Regions from separate parts of the Homo sapiens genome. Here region 2 is linked to region 1. Evidence: promoter capture Hi-C in human tissues and cell types (Jung and others, 2019). All regions are on one chromosome and are shown on one strand. Each heading gives the region's core, a stretch centred on a gene start or on the middle of the fragment in contact. The rest is flanking DNA. Distances are from core to core; before and after follow the strand shown. Region 1 holds the start of NKX2-2 (NK2 homeobox 2). Region 2 has its middle 43 kb from the start of NKX2-2.

The links. The method cuts DNA at HindIII sites, captures the fragments that hold promoters and counts their contacts. A contact is called where the count stands out against the background at its distance.
Region 2: a contact is called between a fragment that was not itself captured here and the fragment with the promoter of NKX2-2 in region 1, in 2 of the 25 tissues and cell types used here (neural progenitor cells and spleen).

What each region holds. Positions count from the first base shown.
Region 1 is chr20:21,510,802-21,518,345 of GRCh38, reverse strand. NKX2-2 (NK2 homeobox 2) reads left to right here and starts at 4,282. Exons shown (of 2, transcript NM_002509.4): 1 at 4,282-4,935; 2 at 5,861-7,329. The coding sequence starts at 4,677. The coding sequence ends at 6,423. RefSeq lists an enhancer at 2,085-2,585. The HindIII fragment of the contact is 15,862 bases long and covers 1-7,544 here.
Region 2 is chr20:21,466,922-21,474,465 of GRCh38, reverse strand. No RefSeq gene overlaps it. Among named protein-coding and RNA genes, the nearest start is that of NKX2-2, 43 kb to the left of the region's middle. The HindIII fragment of the contact is 3,826 bases long and covers 1,958-5,783 here.

The DNA of each region.
Region 1 (7,544 bases), core at 3,033-5,532:
AAGAATGAATAGAGCTAGAGATGTGTACGGAATCTGGAGCCCCAATGCTGATAATAAAGATCGAGTTGAGGGGTCCAGCTGTTCAGGTTACCCCAGCAGGGGCGCGCGGTGTTCGGGACGCTAAGGAGACACCAAGCAAATCTCCTCCGGCCCGGGGCATGCTGGGTTCAGAACTTCCAGCACCCAGCTCAACTTCCTCCCCAAGCATGCAGCAGAACGAGGCATCTTGCAGAGTGCCTACGAGGTCTCCAGACCACGGCAGCTGAGCCCAAAGCTCAAACCCAAACTTGACGGAACGGAGGACATTGAACTCGCTTGGGTGCAAGACGGTACCTGGAAAGAATTTACTAAAGAATGCCGAGTGGGGGAGACCAGGAGCTGAAACTGGTGCAGGCAGACGCTGACAGGGTGGGAGTGGTGGGCCCTTACTGAAGAACCCTCCGGAGGGGGAAGGGAGCGGGGCAGGGCCTCTCAGCCTGCGGGTGTGCGGGATCGCAGAGAACCAAAGCTCCTGGGCTCTAGAAGGCCTAGCTGTGGTACTCTCGGGGAGGCCTCTTGGGGAGTCCTCAGGATGCAATCACCTGTTTAATTGGGACAGAAAAGGTGCGTTTGGCGCCTGGCCCCTAGGCTCTTTGGGCGCAAGCCGGGCCCAAGAAATTGAGGAGACACTGGACTGTGCTCTGGGCACCGGACTTGCCCTGGCCGCCAGCTGGGCCTGCGCAGGCCTCCCGGCGTCCACAGGCCGCTCCTGGGGGACTTGCATTTTATGATCTTCCACTAACAAGCCCAGTTTCTCCCCTTCAATTACGGACCTCCCAGCGGTCTCCCAGCGCCTTTTCAATTGCAAATGTTAACGCTCTGGAAATGGACGCGGGAACCACACGGACGAGAAGTGATGGGGAAATGAGTCTCGAGGTCCCGGGAGAGGCTGAGTGCTGTGGACCCGGAAGCACCGATCGCGGAGGAGGCAAGGCCGAAGCTCTCTCCAATTCTCTCCCTCCCTGCCCAGCTGCCCCCAGGCCAGGGGAAATAAAAACTGGAAGACTCGCTGGGGTGAAAGTGTAGGAGGGGCCGGAGTCCAGGAGGCGTCCTGCGAGGGCAGGGGAAGTGGGCGCCTCAGGTGCTCCGACAAGAGGACACCGCAAGCTGAGACCCAGAAGGATTCGGCTGGTCATTGAGGCTAAGGGGCAGGCGCAAAGGCAAACCCGACCTTTGAGAACTGGGCTGAGGGCCTCCTTCTCTAGGCGCCTATGGCAGCACTCCCTCCCCGTGATTAATTCCAGGAGCCAGGATTCCCCTAGGAAAGCAATCCTCTCTCAGGCGCTCTGCGGACCTTGCAGGCTCCCACGGGTGAGGGGAGGGGACTTGATCAATAGCAGCGGTGCTGATTTAGATCCTGAGAAGAAAGGGTCACTATGCTGGGGAAGGGGGAGAGAAGTTGGGAACTACATGGAACTTCAGCGAGGTGGTTCCCAGCTGAAGAAATGAACACGCTTTGGGAGGCCTCTGCGGGCACTCCCCCACCTAAGAGGGCTCTGGGGATATGCGAGAAACGACACTTGCTGCCAAAGACCCCTTTGCCACCTGACCCAAGAATTTGCCTGGCCCAACCAGATCCTATTCTGGGTCCCCAACCTAGTGGCTGCCCTGGACCCCAAGACAGCCTCCACCCCCTTAGGACTGAGGAATAAGAGGAGGAACAAAAGGAGGGTCTTTGCTGCAACGCTTGGGTTGAGGAACTTTTTTTCTCTCCAGTTATTTATTTAGCAGCTGAGTAACAATAGCAGTGGCAGGCCCACTCCCGCCCCTGGATCCAAACTCGACGCTTCCCCGACTCCTGGAGAACCAACTTCCCTCCTCCGACGGGGCAGAGCGACGAGCTCCCACGTGAAAGGGCGGAGGAGGGGGGGCGCTGAGAAAGACAGAGACGGAAAGCGAGCAAAAAAAAAAAAAAAGCACGAAAAGTAATGGGTTCGAGGAAGACGATTCAAACAAGTTTCTAATTCTTCCAGGGGAAAAAAGGGGGGAAGGAGGGGGAGAAAGGAGAAAAGAAAAAGTAGGAGGAGAAAGAGGAATCGGGGAGCGTCGACATGAAGGGGTTTCCTTAATATTGTGGACGGATTCAGAAATGAATGAAGAGATAGTCCATTGAAAAGGGTTGAATGCCATGACAACTAGGAACAACCTTAGATTTATTCCAAACAGTTAGGACACATTGAAAGAGAGCGTCAATCATGTATTATTTCGCCACTGAAATAAATGCAAAAACCGAGCCGGGACAAAGGCTTCCAACGGGAGCGGGACATTTGTCTACATTTCGCTCATTGTCCGCAGCTTAGCAATCGGTTTGTATTTGTGTTTGCCCGGGTCCGACCACCCAGGACGCGCCGACGAGGGGCTTGCTCTAACCTGGGCCATTGTCACCCACGTCACATACTGGGGGCGAGGCAGCTAGGGCTGCAGAAAGCCGCCGAGCGGCTCGGGGAGAGGTGCCCTCACCCAGCGCTGGCAACCCGGGGGCAGCTGGGGCGCGGCGGCGTCCGCTGCAGCTGCGCGCGAGGAGGACCCGGTGCCCGCGCGCTCAGCTTGGCCCGCGCGGAGGAGCCCAGGTTGTGGGAAGACTAGACCTGGACCCCGCAGGGGTGGCCTTCTGTGCCCCTCCCCGCCCCCAGACAAAGCTCCTTCCTGACACTCCTCTGGGGCGAACGAGCATCAGGTAGCCAATCTACACCCCTGCACCCCCCCCCCAAAAAAGTTTTAACTAGAAGAAGGGGTGGCAAATGCGGCGTGGTCTTTTCCAACCCCAGCGCCGAGGAGGAAGTGCAAGTCCCGGGAAAGTTCAGTTCCCAGAGCCGAGAGTGGCTGGAAACTTCACACTAACCTGACTTAACCTGGAAACGTGGAGCGCGTACTCCGAACGCACCCAAGGCGTCCAAAAAGAGACCACACTAAAGAACTCGCGTGGGAGAAGAAAACTGGGGAGAAAACGAGGCATCGTCGGGCCACCCAGCGACCCCCCTCCCCCGCAGCTTTCTGGGTCTTCACCCAGGCTGGAGACACAACCCCCACCCCCACCCCCGCAATCCCGCCCCGCCGCCTTCCCGCTGCTCCACCTCTAGCCAGAGGCTGGAGAGGGAGGGGGCCGGAGAGGGAGGGATAATAGAGGGCAGGAAAGAGCAGGGCCGTCTGCCCTTTCCTCCACCCGGGGAAAGAGGCCCGCAGAGCCCAGAGGCAGCAGGGCCAGGGTCCGACCCCAGACGAAGTTGGAGCTCCTCACTCTTACCCCGCCCTCCCCGGGACCGCCCGCAAAGCAGAAAGTGAACTGCGCGTCCTCCTTGGCCGCAGAGAGGTGGAGGCGGGGGGTTGGGGGTGGGAGGTGGGGGGAGGCGGAGTGAAGGAAATAAATGAGTCTTTAGCAAATAAAGGGCGGCTGGAAGGGGGCGGGTCGCTTGGTGGTGGCTCTGGCCGGCCCGGAGCGGAGCTCTCTCCTGGGTTTTGGGCTCTCTCGCGGTTAACTGGAATCAATTACTTGCCTTGTCATTTCTAGCACTCATCCTTAAGCCTCAACCAAAATATTGACCTAGGAGGCTTACAGAAGTTGGGCTCTTGCCATTTGAACCGGATCTTGTTTAGGCAACCACCAACGATGGAAAGGAGAGATTTCCGCAGCTCGGCCTTCGCCCCCTCCCCCTTTTCCAAAGGCGCCACAAATCGCCAATTTTCCGGCTTGCCGGGGGTGGGCGCGCGGGGGCGGGGAGGTAGGAACCGGTGAATGTTAAAGAGGATTTTTTCCCTCCTCCTGGTTTCTGTTTTGTTTTCTCCCCTCCTCCTCCCCACCCCCACCTTTTTTAAGATGCAATTTGTTAAAACGGCCCTTTCAAGTGTGTGGACTCGCGAGCGACGCGGTGGCCCTTTGTATGTAAATACTGGGTTTAAAAAAAAAAAGGCTCGCCCCGTCTTTGCAATTAATTGACACGTTACACCTCTCATCTTGCTCTAGAGGGCCGTTGGCTGGGAGCGCGGAGCTCCCCAAAACCCACAATTTCACATCTGCAAATACTGTCTTCATCCACTTGACTCCCAAGACCCGCCCACACGTGGCCAACCTTTGCGTTTTTAATGTCTCTTCCCCCTTTTTTCCACCCTTCTCCCGCTCCCTCTCTCGCTCCCCCTCCCTCCCTCTTTCTTTCCCTCCCTCCCTCTCTTTCTCCCCCTCTCCCCGCCTCCCCAGGTTCGTGAGTGGAGCCCAGCCTTATATGGACTGATCGCTCGGGCAATGGCCCATTTTTTCCTCGCCACCAGCCGCCACCGCGCGCCGAGCGGCCGCCGGAGCCCGAGCTGACGCCGCCTTGGCACCCCTCCTGGAGTTAGAAACTAAGGCCGGGGCCCGCGGCGCTCGGCGCGCAGGCCGCCCGGCTTCCTGCGTCCATTTCCGCGTGCTTTCAAAGAAGACAGAGAGAGGCACTGGGTTGGGCTTCATTTTTTTCCTCCCCATCCCCAGTTTCTTTCTCTTTTTAAAAATAATAATTATCCCAATAATTAAAGCCAATTCCCCCCTCCCCTCCCCCAGTCCCTCCCCCCAACTCCCCCCTCCCCCGCCCGCCGGGGCAGGGGAGCGCCACGAATTGACCAAGTGAAGCTACAACTTTGCGACATAAATTTTGGGGTCTCGAACCATGTCGCTGACCAACACAAAGACGGGGTTTTCGGTCAAGGACATCTTAGACCTGCCGGACACCAACGATGAGGAGGGCTCTGTGGCCGAAGGTCCGGAGGAAGAGAACGAGGGGCCCGAGCCAGCCAAGAGGGCCGGGCCGCTGGGGCAGGGCGCCCTGGACGCGGTGCAGAGCCTGCCCCTGAAGAACCCCTTCTACGACAGCAGCGACAACCCGTACACGCGCTGGCTGGCCAGCACCGAGGGCCTTCAGTACTCCCGTAAGTAGCAAAACTTGGCTGCCGAGGCCGTGGTCCCCTCCATTCCTGCAGCCGCAGCCCGGGTTGGACGCTGGGAGTGAAAGGGGAAGGGGCCATGTAAGCCCGGACCCCCTCACTCGGATCCGTAGAAAGATTTTTAACACCTGTATAGGATGTCCTCTGCCCTCCTCTTCAAGCCTCCTTAGTTCCGGGAAAGAACTTGGTCTCCAAAATTTTTTTCAATGCGAGAAGTTAAGGAGAAAGAGGGAGAAGGGCTATACCTCCCAGGGGCTGGTATATGATGTCAACCCGGACCGATGGCTCCAGCCGCAGCCCCCGGACTCCGGCCGCTGGGAGGGACTGGCCTGGCGCCCTGGAGGTAGCCAGCGAGCCTCGTCCGGGTACGGGTGGAGGGTGGGGAGGCTTCGGGTGGCCCGGGTATAAATAGCTCACCCTGCCCCCTGCGCGATCATAGAGGACGCTTTGTGCAGTGCAGGGGGTGTCTAGAAGGCCCGAAAGCAGAAACGAAAGCCCCCAAAAACCTGCCTTAAATGGCCGAGCCGATCAATGCTGGGATTGTGGGGTATTTCTTTTAAAAATCTGCCCACGTCTCGCCGGAGAGGAAACCGCTTAAGGGCGCCGGAGCCCTTAACCCGCGATGATCTTCAGTGCCACTTCCCCCCCCAAATTCTCACCCACACTATGTGAGCCCCTTGAAAGGCGAGCCCCTAGCCCCCACTCCTACGGATTTCCCTCTTTACCCTGGGAGGTCCCGACGTCTTCGTCAGGCGTAGAGGAAGGCAGGGGTCATGGCAAAGGCAGCGGGGCTGGGCTGCCAGGCGCGGAGGTCCAGGGTCGCACGGAGGATCCAGGGTGCTCCGAGTCTGGTGCAGGCTGCGCGCGGCCTCCAGACGCCTGACGCGCTTCTCTCTCCCCCTCCCCCCAGTGCACGGTCTGGCTGCCGGGGCGCCCCCTCAGGACTCAAGCTCCAAGTCCCCGGAGCCCTCGGCCGACGAGTCACCGGACAATGACAAGGAGACCCCGGGCGGCGGGGGGGACGCCGGCAAGAAGCGAAAGCGGCGAGTGCTTTTCTCCAAGGCGCAGACCTACGAGCTGGAGCGGCGCTTTCGGCAGCAGCGGTACCTGTCGGCGCCCGAGCGCGAACACCTGGCCAGCCTCATCCGCCTCACGCCCACGCAGGTCAAGATCTGGTTCCAGAACCACCGCTACAAGATGAAGCGCGCCCGGGCCGAGAAAGGTATGGAGGTGACGCCCCTGCCCTCGCCGCGCCGGGTGGCCGTGCCCGTCTTGGTCAGGGACGGCAAACCATGTCACGCGCTCAAAGCCCAGGACCTGGCAGCCGCCACCTTCCAGGCGGGCATTCCCTTTTCTGCCTACAGCGCGCAGTCGCTGCAGCACATGCAGTACAACGCCCAGTACAGCTCGGCCAGCACCCCCCAGTACCCGACAGCACACCCCCTGGTCCAGGCCCAGCAGTGGACTTGGTGAGCGCCGCCCCAACGAGACTCGCGGCCCCAGGCCCAGGCCCCACCCCGGCGGCGGTGGCGGCGAGGAGGCCTCGGTCCTTATGGTGGTTATTATTATTATTATAATTATTATTATGGAGTCGAGTTGACTCTCGGCTCCACTAGGGAGGCGCCGGGAGGTTGCCTGCGTCTCCTTGGAGTGGCAGATTCCACCCACCCAGCTCTGCCCATGCCTCTCCTTCTGAACCTTGGGAGAGGGCTGAACTCTACGCCGTGTTTACAGAATGTTTGCGCAGCTTCGCTTCTTTGCCTCTCCCCGGGGGGACCAAACCGTCCCAGCGTTAATGTCGTCACTTGAAAACGAGAAAAAGACCGACCCCCCACCCCTGCTTTCGTGCATTTTGTAAAATATGTTTGTGTGAGTAGCGATATTGTCAGCCGTCTTCTAAAGCAAGTGGAGAACACTTTAAAAATACAGAGAATTTCTTCCTTTTTTTAAAAAAAAATAAGAAAATGCTAAATATTTATGGCCATGTAAACGTTCTGACAACTGGTGGCAGATTTCGCTTTTCGTTGTAAATATCGGTGGTGATTGTTGCCAAAATGACCTTCAGGACCGGCCTGTTTCCCGTCTGGGTCCAACTCCTTTCTTTGTGGCTTGTTTGGGTTTGTTTTTTGTTTTGTTTTTGTTTTTGCGTTTTCCCCTGCTTTCTTCCTTTCTCTTTTTATTTTATTGTGCAAACATTTCTCAAATATGGAAAAGAAAACCCTGTAGGCAGGGAGCCCTCTGCCCTGTCCTCCGGGCCTTCAGCCCCGAACTTGGAGCTCAGCTATTCGGCGCGGTTCCCCAACAGCGCCGGGCGCAGAAAGCTTTCGATTTTTTAAATAAGAATTTTAATAAAAATCCTGTGTTTAAAAAAGAAAAAAAGAAAAAATCCCTGCCCTCCCGTTTGTCCTACTGCGCCGGGCCGGAGGCCTGGGCCTGGGAGCCGGGCCCGGCCGCCCGCGGGGCTCCCACAGGCGGTTCCTCTCGGGCGGGGAGGCCGGGGGTACCGGGGCCCTGGGGCGGGCGGGGCTCCCGGTGCAGGCCCCTCCGACCACAGGCTGCACCCCGCGCCTAGGATTGGGGCGGGGAGGAGAACG
Region 2 (7,544 bases), core at 2,621-5,120, 43 kb after region 1:
ATCTCTAGAATGACCCTTTTTCTCATGACCCAAGATAGCAGGCAGTTGGAGGCCTAGCTGCCCACATCCACATTCCAAAGTAGCTGGAGAAGTAAGGAATAAAGATGTGCCTCCACTCTTCAAGAAATACCATATAACACTTCTGCTTTAAACTCATTGGCCAAAACCTAGTCACATGGCCTAGTCACCTAGCTGGGACACTGGAAAATGTGGCCTTTTAGTGGATAATATGTTTGTCCTAAATAAAACTAAGCTTCTATTAATATTACAGGAAGAAGGAAAGAAGAGATTGTGCTAGGCAAACAGGAGTCTTCCACAGAAGTCAATATACATGAAGAATTTATAATCATTTCCTCCACAATACACATTTTTGTACATGAATAATGAGTTAGATATATTTTTAAACACTGTTTGTGGCTGTCCATATTGAGAAAAGATGGTCATTGTTATTAAAGATGCTCATTATTGTTTTGCACTTAAAGTCAGTCTGTATAGTTGAAGCCAGGCAAATAATTGAGGCAATCAACTTGTTAACAGTATTGAGAAAATAATCTCTAGGTCTTTATGTTAGTACTCACAAAATCTTAAAAACCAAACAATGAAAAGAATTATTCAATATTTCAATACATTTTTGGATAATTTGTATCACAAAGAGCAAGACAACCCACTTACCTCAAATGAATTGAGGGATTAAAGATAAACAGTGTATGAGGAAGGCTTAATTTTCATTATTTTCCTATCATTTGAAAGAAACTTTGCCATCTACTTATATCACCTTTTCAAAACTTTTTGTGGGCAGGGTTGCTCTGACACCTAGGCCGGAGGGTAGTGGCACGCTCATAGCTCACTGCAGCCTCGACCTCTTGGGCTCAAACGATCCTCACATCTTGGCCTCCCAAAGTGCCAGGACTACAGACGTGAGCCACTGCGCCCAGCCAGTAAAAAAAACTTTTTTTAAGAAAAAAGTGTGATTAAGATCCAAGGCTATCTTGTTTCTATGCATTTGGGGAAGAAGTGGAATTTGGGGATAGTGAGGTTCAAAATCAGCAAAACTCTGACATCCCCCCCTTTTGAAGGCTCATTCAGGGAAATGTAGCTTTGAAATGATGGTCATGTTGCTTTGGCCATGCCTGTTATTTTAAATAGAACCCATTTGTTCTCCTAGTGACTCATAATATGGCTTAATAAAAGCCTAAATCAAGAAACTGGTGCTCCCTCCTTCCTCAAGGATGCAATCCTTAGACAAAGAGTGGGCTTAGATTTGGTTGTAGTTTACATTTCAGTCGTGGTTATTTATGATTCTTCTGTTATGCCTATTCTAAACTCTACTATCGTTTAAACAAATTTACTTTCAATTCTCCACTGAGTTCACCAAAGACAAATAATCCTTCTGCAACTGGCAGGGCTGAAGATTAAGCCACCCTGGGCAATTAAGCGTATCCCAAGGTTCAGCTGGTATGCTGTAGTTTACATTCATTACAGCCATTTAGCAAGGTTCGACAGCTTATACTCCTGGTCTGAAGGAGGACTTGTATCCTTCATTAGCATTCTTATATTCAGCTAGGATGTTGTGGCATATACCACTGTCAGGCTGAGTCCCAGCATTACGAGATTAGGGCTGCAAATTTCACCCTTCTGCCACTAGTGGAATCCTCCAGGACTTGGCTTCTGTAAACAGCTGTGGCAGCTTTTGAAGGAAAAGCTGGAGTGTGTACCAATAAGGAAGTATAAACAACCAGGGTTGATTATCATGGTTATACAATTAGAAACTGGGAATTCAGCTTTGAATCAGGACCCAAAATGGGTACAAAAGAACTTAATTCAGGATCTCCAATATGGTGTCTTTTAAAAAGGAGGCTACAAATATGGTAGCAATATGGCATATCAGTTAACTATTGCTGCATAATAAACAGCCTCAAAAGAAATCTCAGCAGCATACAACAATAAGAACCTCAACCGCTTGCAGATCTTTGGGTAGGCTGAGCAGTTTAGCTGACTTCAACTGGGCTAACTCACGTGTCTGGGCATTAACCAGTCCAGCCTGGGCTTGGCTAAGGTGACTGAGCTCTGCTTCACATGACTCTCATCCTCCTGGCACTGGCTGGTTAGCCTGGCCATGTTCTTCTCATGATCATGATGGAGGCAAAAGAAAAAGACTTCACAAGTGTTGTCCCAGCTCTTTCTTTCTTGTCTGCTGATATCCCACTAGCCAAAACAAGTCAGGTGTGCAAAAGTACACCCCTTCTTTGCAAAGCTACATGGCAAAGGACACAGATTCAGAAAGGGATGAAGAATTTAATGTAATCTACTAGATGGGACAAAGAGACTTGAAACTACACATGTGATTAACCCGTTTATGTTTGAGGTTGCAATTTTTTGAATTTGAAAAATCAGACCTTGGCAATGACCTTGAGCAGAAGAATATAAATAACTCCCACATGCTTAGCATTCCAATAATGGAAAACTAGGCATAAATAGGTTCAGAATAAAGAAAGAAAATGAGTTAATGAACAATTAGGTCCTTCATTGAAAAAGTTGCTAAGAGTGCCAGGTGTGTTGAAGACCTAAAGAATCCTCGAACAGTACAGCTCTAACTGAATTTAGGGTCCTCTAGATCAGTGGTTCTTAGCCTTTGTGAGGTCTGAATTTTTTAAATATATGCGAAAATATACATTTTACAAGCATTCTGTGGACTCTCTGAAAGCCATCTGTGAACACCTTGGAAATACATAAACCCATTGTTAACAGGTGGAGAAGCTGAGTTACATTATGATTTATGCTCAGAGAGATCTTTCAGCTAGCGTGAAAACTGCATTTAGTTGAATTTGGTGTTGTACCAAAGTGAATATAAGCCAGACAATAGTCCACTGCTCAAGAACCTCCTAAAGCATTCCTTCACATAGTGTAGAACCTGTACTCCTTACTATGGCCTTCAAGGCCCTCCAAGGCCTGACCCCTGCCCACCTTCACAAACTTGCTTTCCGTCTTGCATCAGCATCCAACCAGACAGGCTTCTGTGCTGTTTCTTGCACTTGCCAAGTTTGGGGCCTGAGCAATTCTGTTCCCTCTGCCTGGGATGCTCTTTTCCTGCCAATTCACACTGCTATCTCCATTGTTTTATTTAGGATTCTGTACAAATAAAGGCCTTCTCTGAACATCACATTTAAAATGCCAACCCTCAATCACTCTTGCTTTATTTATAATCTGAGCCATTTGTTTTTTCTCTATGCCTGTGGTGGATACAAGTACCTGAGCGTAGAGACTTGATTTATTTTTTCCTTCACATATCTCCAGCATCTAGCACCAGGACTGAAACAGAGAGGGCACTTGAGTAGGTATTAAATGAGTAAATTGACATGTTACACTATAAGATATATATCCACAGGGAAACCCAGAGATGAAAATATACCAGAATACATTTCACAACCAAATTGTAAGAAAGAGATTTCATACAGCTCAGTCTTGCAAAGAAAGTGGAACCCCTCTCCTAGCTTTCTGAATGGTTTTCATTTAAGAATCTTAATGTTTAATTTCAAATAATAACAAGTCATCAAATCAAATGATTAGCCATAGCTAATTAGCCCTACCAAGGATTTTGTAGCGTTTTTATTACTTAGGAAGAGATCCATTGGTGCAGGTGGGAATGTTGTCTGAAATAAAGCTTTGGAGCAAAAACTTGTAATTGATCAATGGGTATGTGTGTTTCTTTACAGGTGGGCACCAAACATAAGGCTTAGTTTCTTGATGTGTAGCTTTCTTCTGTATAACCAGCCTAAGATTTGGAGCATCTTATCAAACACTGAATGGAGATGATGAGTTGGCTGTGAGGAGGTTATAAGCTGTCCTTAGCAGTGATTTATGGAGGCTCTGATTTCAGAGGTTAACAAAGATTTGCTTTAGGTTTATGTGCCATTTTCCAAAGTCATTCTGAACTGACAGATAAATGTGTAGCCCTCTTTGCTGGCGCCTTTTATGGGTAGGTGCAGCTGGATGAAAATCAGCCACAAAAGAGATCCCAGTGTTATCATTAATGGTGACTGTGTAACAGATGTTGTCTACATATTAGGGGAGGCTGCTTAATTTGTCTCTTGCAAACATGAAGCCTCTTAAAACTATTATGTACCAAACATTGTCTGGAAAATTTCATTCTTTTGTAACACAGTCCTCCTTTAGGAAGAACAGCAGTTTGAAATTAAAAGAATAAAAGAAAGACTCAAATGAAGGAATACTATGTGCATTACATTTTTGTTCATCATGATTATGGTGAAGAGACAAAAAAAAGACATTATGGTATTGCCAAGGGAAAATACACGTATTAAAGACAAAAGTCTAAATGAATAGGTACTGAACAAGTGATGAGAAATTAGGGTGGAGATGGGGTTTTGCCTCCTGTCGTTTATAAGCAAGCCTCCCCATTGACTTACTGCCTAGGAAGAACAGAGTGGGTGACAAAGAGTTAGAAATCTTGCCCATAATGGTAGGAAAGTGATTTCATTCCACTCACCATCTGGTCAGCTCAGCCTATTTTTCAGGCAAAAGATTAGTCGTTTGTTAGGTACATTAAGCCCCAATTCTTTACAAAGCCCACCACACACACACACACACACACACACACACACAGTTGTGATAGTCCAACACCATGTTTCTCTACTTTTCTCCTCTCTAAAAATATGCATGAATTTCATTTTCATTTTGGAGAGATTTTGGGGAGTTTATCATGCTATGATAACACAAATGGCTTCTACTTTTTTCTCAGTAAATAAAAGAAGGCTTTCATAAGACCGTAAAAAGAAAGTTGTGTATGGGAGAGTTGTACATTGGTATAGTCATTTTGGAAAGAAATTCAGCAATTTTGTCAAGAATTAAAATGATTTCAAACATTGTGCCCCAAAACTTCACTTCTGAGAACCTGCTCTTAAGAAGTTCAAAATAATAAAAAGGCACATCATAAAAATACATTTTATAATAGCAAAAATGGCATTTTTATAATAGTAAAATTGGAGGCAAACTCAAATTCTTATATTAGGTTATATTTAAATAAATTATTATAAGTTACCTAACAAAATAATTTTAGCATTAAAATTATAGATATGAATACTACATAATAACTTGAAGACATTTATGCTATATATTAAATTTTTAAAAGGAATGAAAAATTGAACATAGATGATTTGTATCCTTGTAAAATATGAATATGAAAAAAGTCTGTAGGGAAATATACCATTAAGATAAATATTTTTGTAAAAAAAAAAATAGAAAGAAAAAGATGGCTATAGAACGAAAGCAGGTTGTATCCGAAGAGTAATTGTTTCCCTCAGTAAGCACCAGCTAGTGTATTTTAGAAGCAGTTTCCTGCATATCAAACTACTTTACTATGTGTTTATCATTCCTGGCAATCCTCCTCCCCTGGCCATATTTTCAGATTATTCATTAGATTATCAGTATAAATAAAAAGGTAAATGTTTGCATCAGCACTCATTTTAACACTAAAATGGCAAGATTGTTTCTCCTCTTGATTTAGGGGGCCAAGGTGCAGAAGTCTTTCCATCCTATTCCCAAGGAACCTCCAGATTCTCGGAACAAAGGTAGTATGGGAGAACTGAAGCAATAAAATGACCTGCAATGTTTCATGTAAATTAATTCCCCAACACAGTGATTTCAGGGTAAGTCATTGCAATATACACTCAATAAATACCTTTCCACTTTGGAATCCTTCCAGTATTCTAAGTGGAGAGAGGTTGGTTGACTTAAGAGATTAATAAAGACCTCCAAAACTGCTTGAATTTTAGGGCCAGTATAAAATGCGGGTCTCAGGCATTATCACTGGCTGCCAAGGAGCACCACAAGCTGGGGTCAGGGAATATCTGTGAACTTACAGATATCCAGCTTCAAAGTCAAATGTAACCTTCCAAAAACTTTTTAAAATTGTTGCCAATGCCATATTGCTCATGTAGTGTAAAACAATTTACCTGAGCTGTACCTTTATTTTATAATTAATCCCCCCCCCCAACAATGAGGTGAGAAAGCCTTAGTTTAAAACAAAACCTCTGTGCCACCAGTAGACCAAGCAGAATGAAAAGATTATCCAGGATGTGGGGAAGAACCTGCCTCTGCTCTATGCCCAGTGCGGGCCTGGCTTTTGGTTGTTTCAAAAGCATCAGGTGTATTCCTGCCCTCAAAGACCTTCGAATCTTGTAGAGGGACACAACATGTGAGTAACTGATGCAGTAAATGGTCTCTACTCAGCAGGCAATAGACAGAAACTGGCTGCTATTTCTCTAGCCTCTGCTTCCAGTTTGGCCACATCAGGTCCCTTGTTCTAGTCCTCATCTTAGGCCTATCAGAGAATTTCTCCTCTAGTTGCTTTTGGTTATTAAATTCAGTCCATAGAATTCCATTGAAATCTTCTTCCCTCCTGTCCCCATTGTGGGCTTCAGCAGAGACCCCAACTGCATGGAGTGTGGGGAAATGGAATACACAGGATTGGAAAATGATGTTGGGATGAGGAGAGAAGGAAGAAACTTGTCTCATTCCTCAGCTGGCAGCAGCTGGCATTCTTTCTCCCCTGAAGTCATTGCTGCCCTGGCTGACAGTGCCTGGCCCTGAAGCCCACAACAAGGCAGACTCCATGTATCATCTCTCCTGGGATATGTGGATAATTTGGGGGAGATCCAGCAGCAGAACCTCCTAAAGTTCCCTGACATGGGAGAACTACCTTGCTAAGAACTGTCATCGTTCTCCCTTCTGGCAGGCCCTCTCTCTATTGGAGTCCTATGGAAGCCCCCTGTGACCCCCTCAGCACTCCCACTCCCTCCATATAGAGGAAGGGGATAACCTGACCCTACTAACCTTTTCCTTCTCCAAGGCCCACTCTCCCCTCCCAGTGTCCTCCTGACGAAGAGATGAGAGTTAGGCTGCTTGTAGGAGTGTTTGTTGAGCTATTTCTGCCACCTCTTAGGTGATGTGTGGAGGGGAGGTTCTGGCTTTAGTTGTTAGCTGCTTTCTTAAAATTAGGACATTGGCTCCCAACCTTGGTTGCTCATTAGAATCATTTTGGGGAGTTTTTTTAAATTCCCAATGCCTGGGTTGGCCCACCCCATGCGATAGCAGAGTCTTGGGAGATAGGCCTAAAAGACAGGATAATTTTTCAAGAAATGTGGTTTGAATCTGCAGTCAGGACCCAGAGCAACTACGGTCTAAATGTTTAGAGTGGATGTTCTCAGCCTTAGCTGCACATTGGATTAACCAGAGGGCTTTGAAAAGAGCATATGCTGGGTCCACCCCACAGATTCTGATGTCATTGGCTGGGTGCTTCCACTGCTGTGGGAACTCCTGTTTTCTGTAGCTGACATCATGGAATCCTAAAAGAAGGCTCCAGGGAGGAGGGGATCCTCAGGCCACAGAGGGCACCCAGGCCTGGTGTACCTCAGCAGCTCTGCCAACCTGAGCTTCGTCTCCTCTCCCTATAGGAGCTTCTCCAATGATCCTCCGTCACCTTTACCCCCACCCACTGCCCACCCAGCTACTTCAGTCACACACTGGTC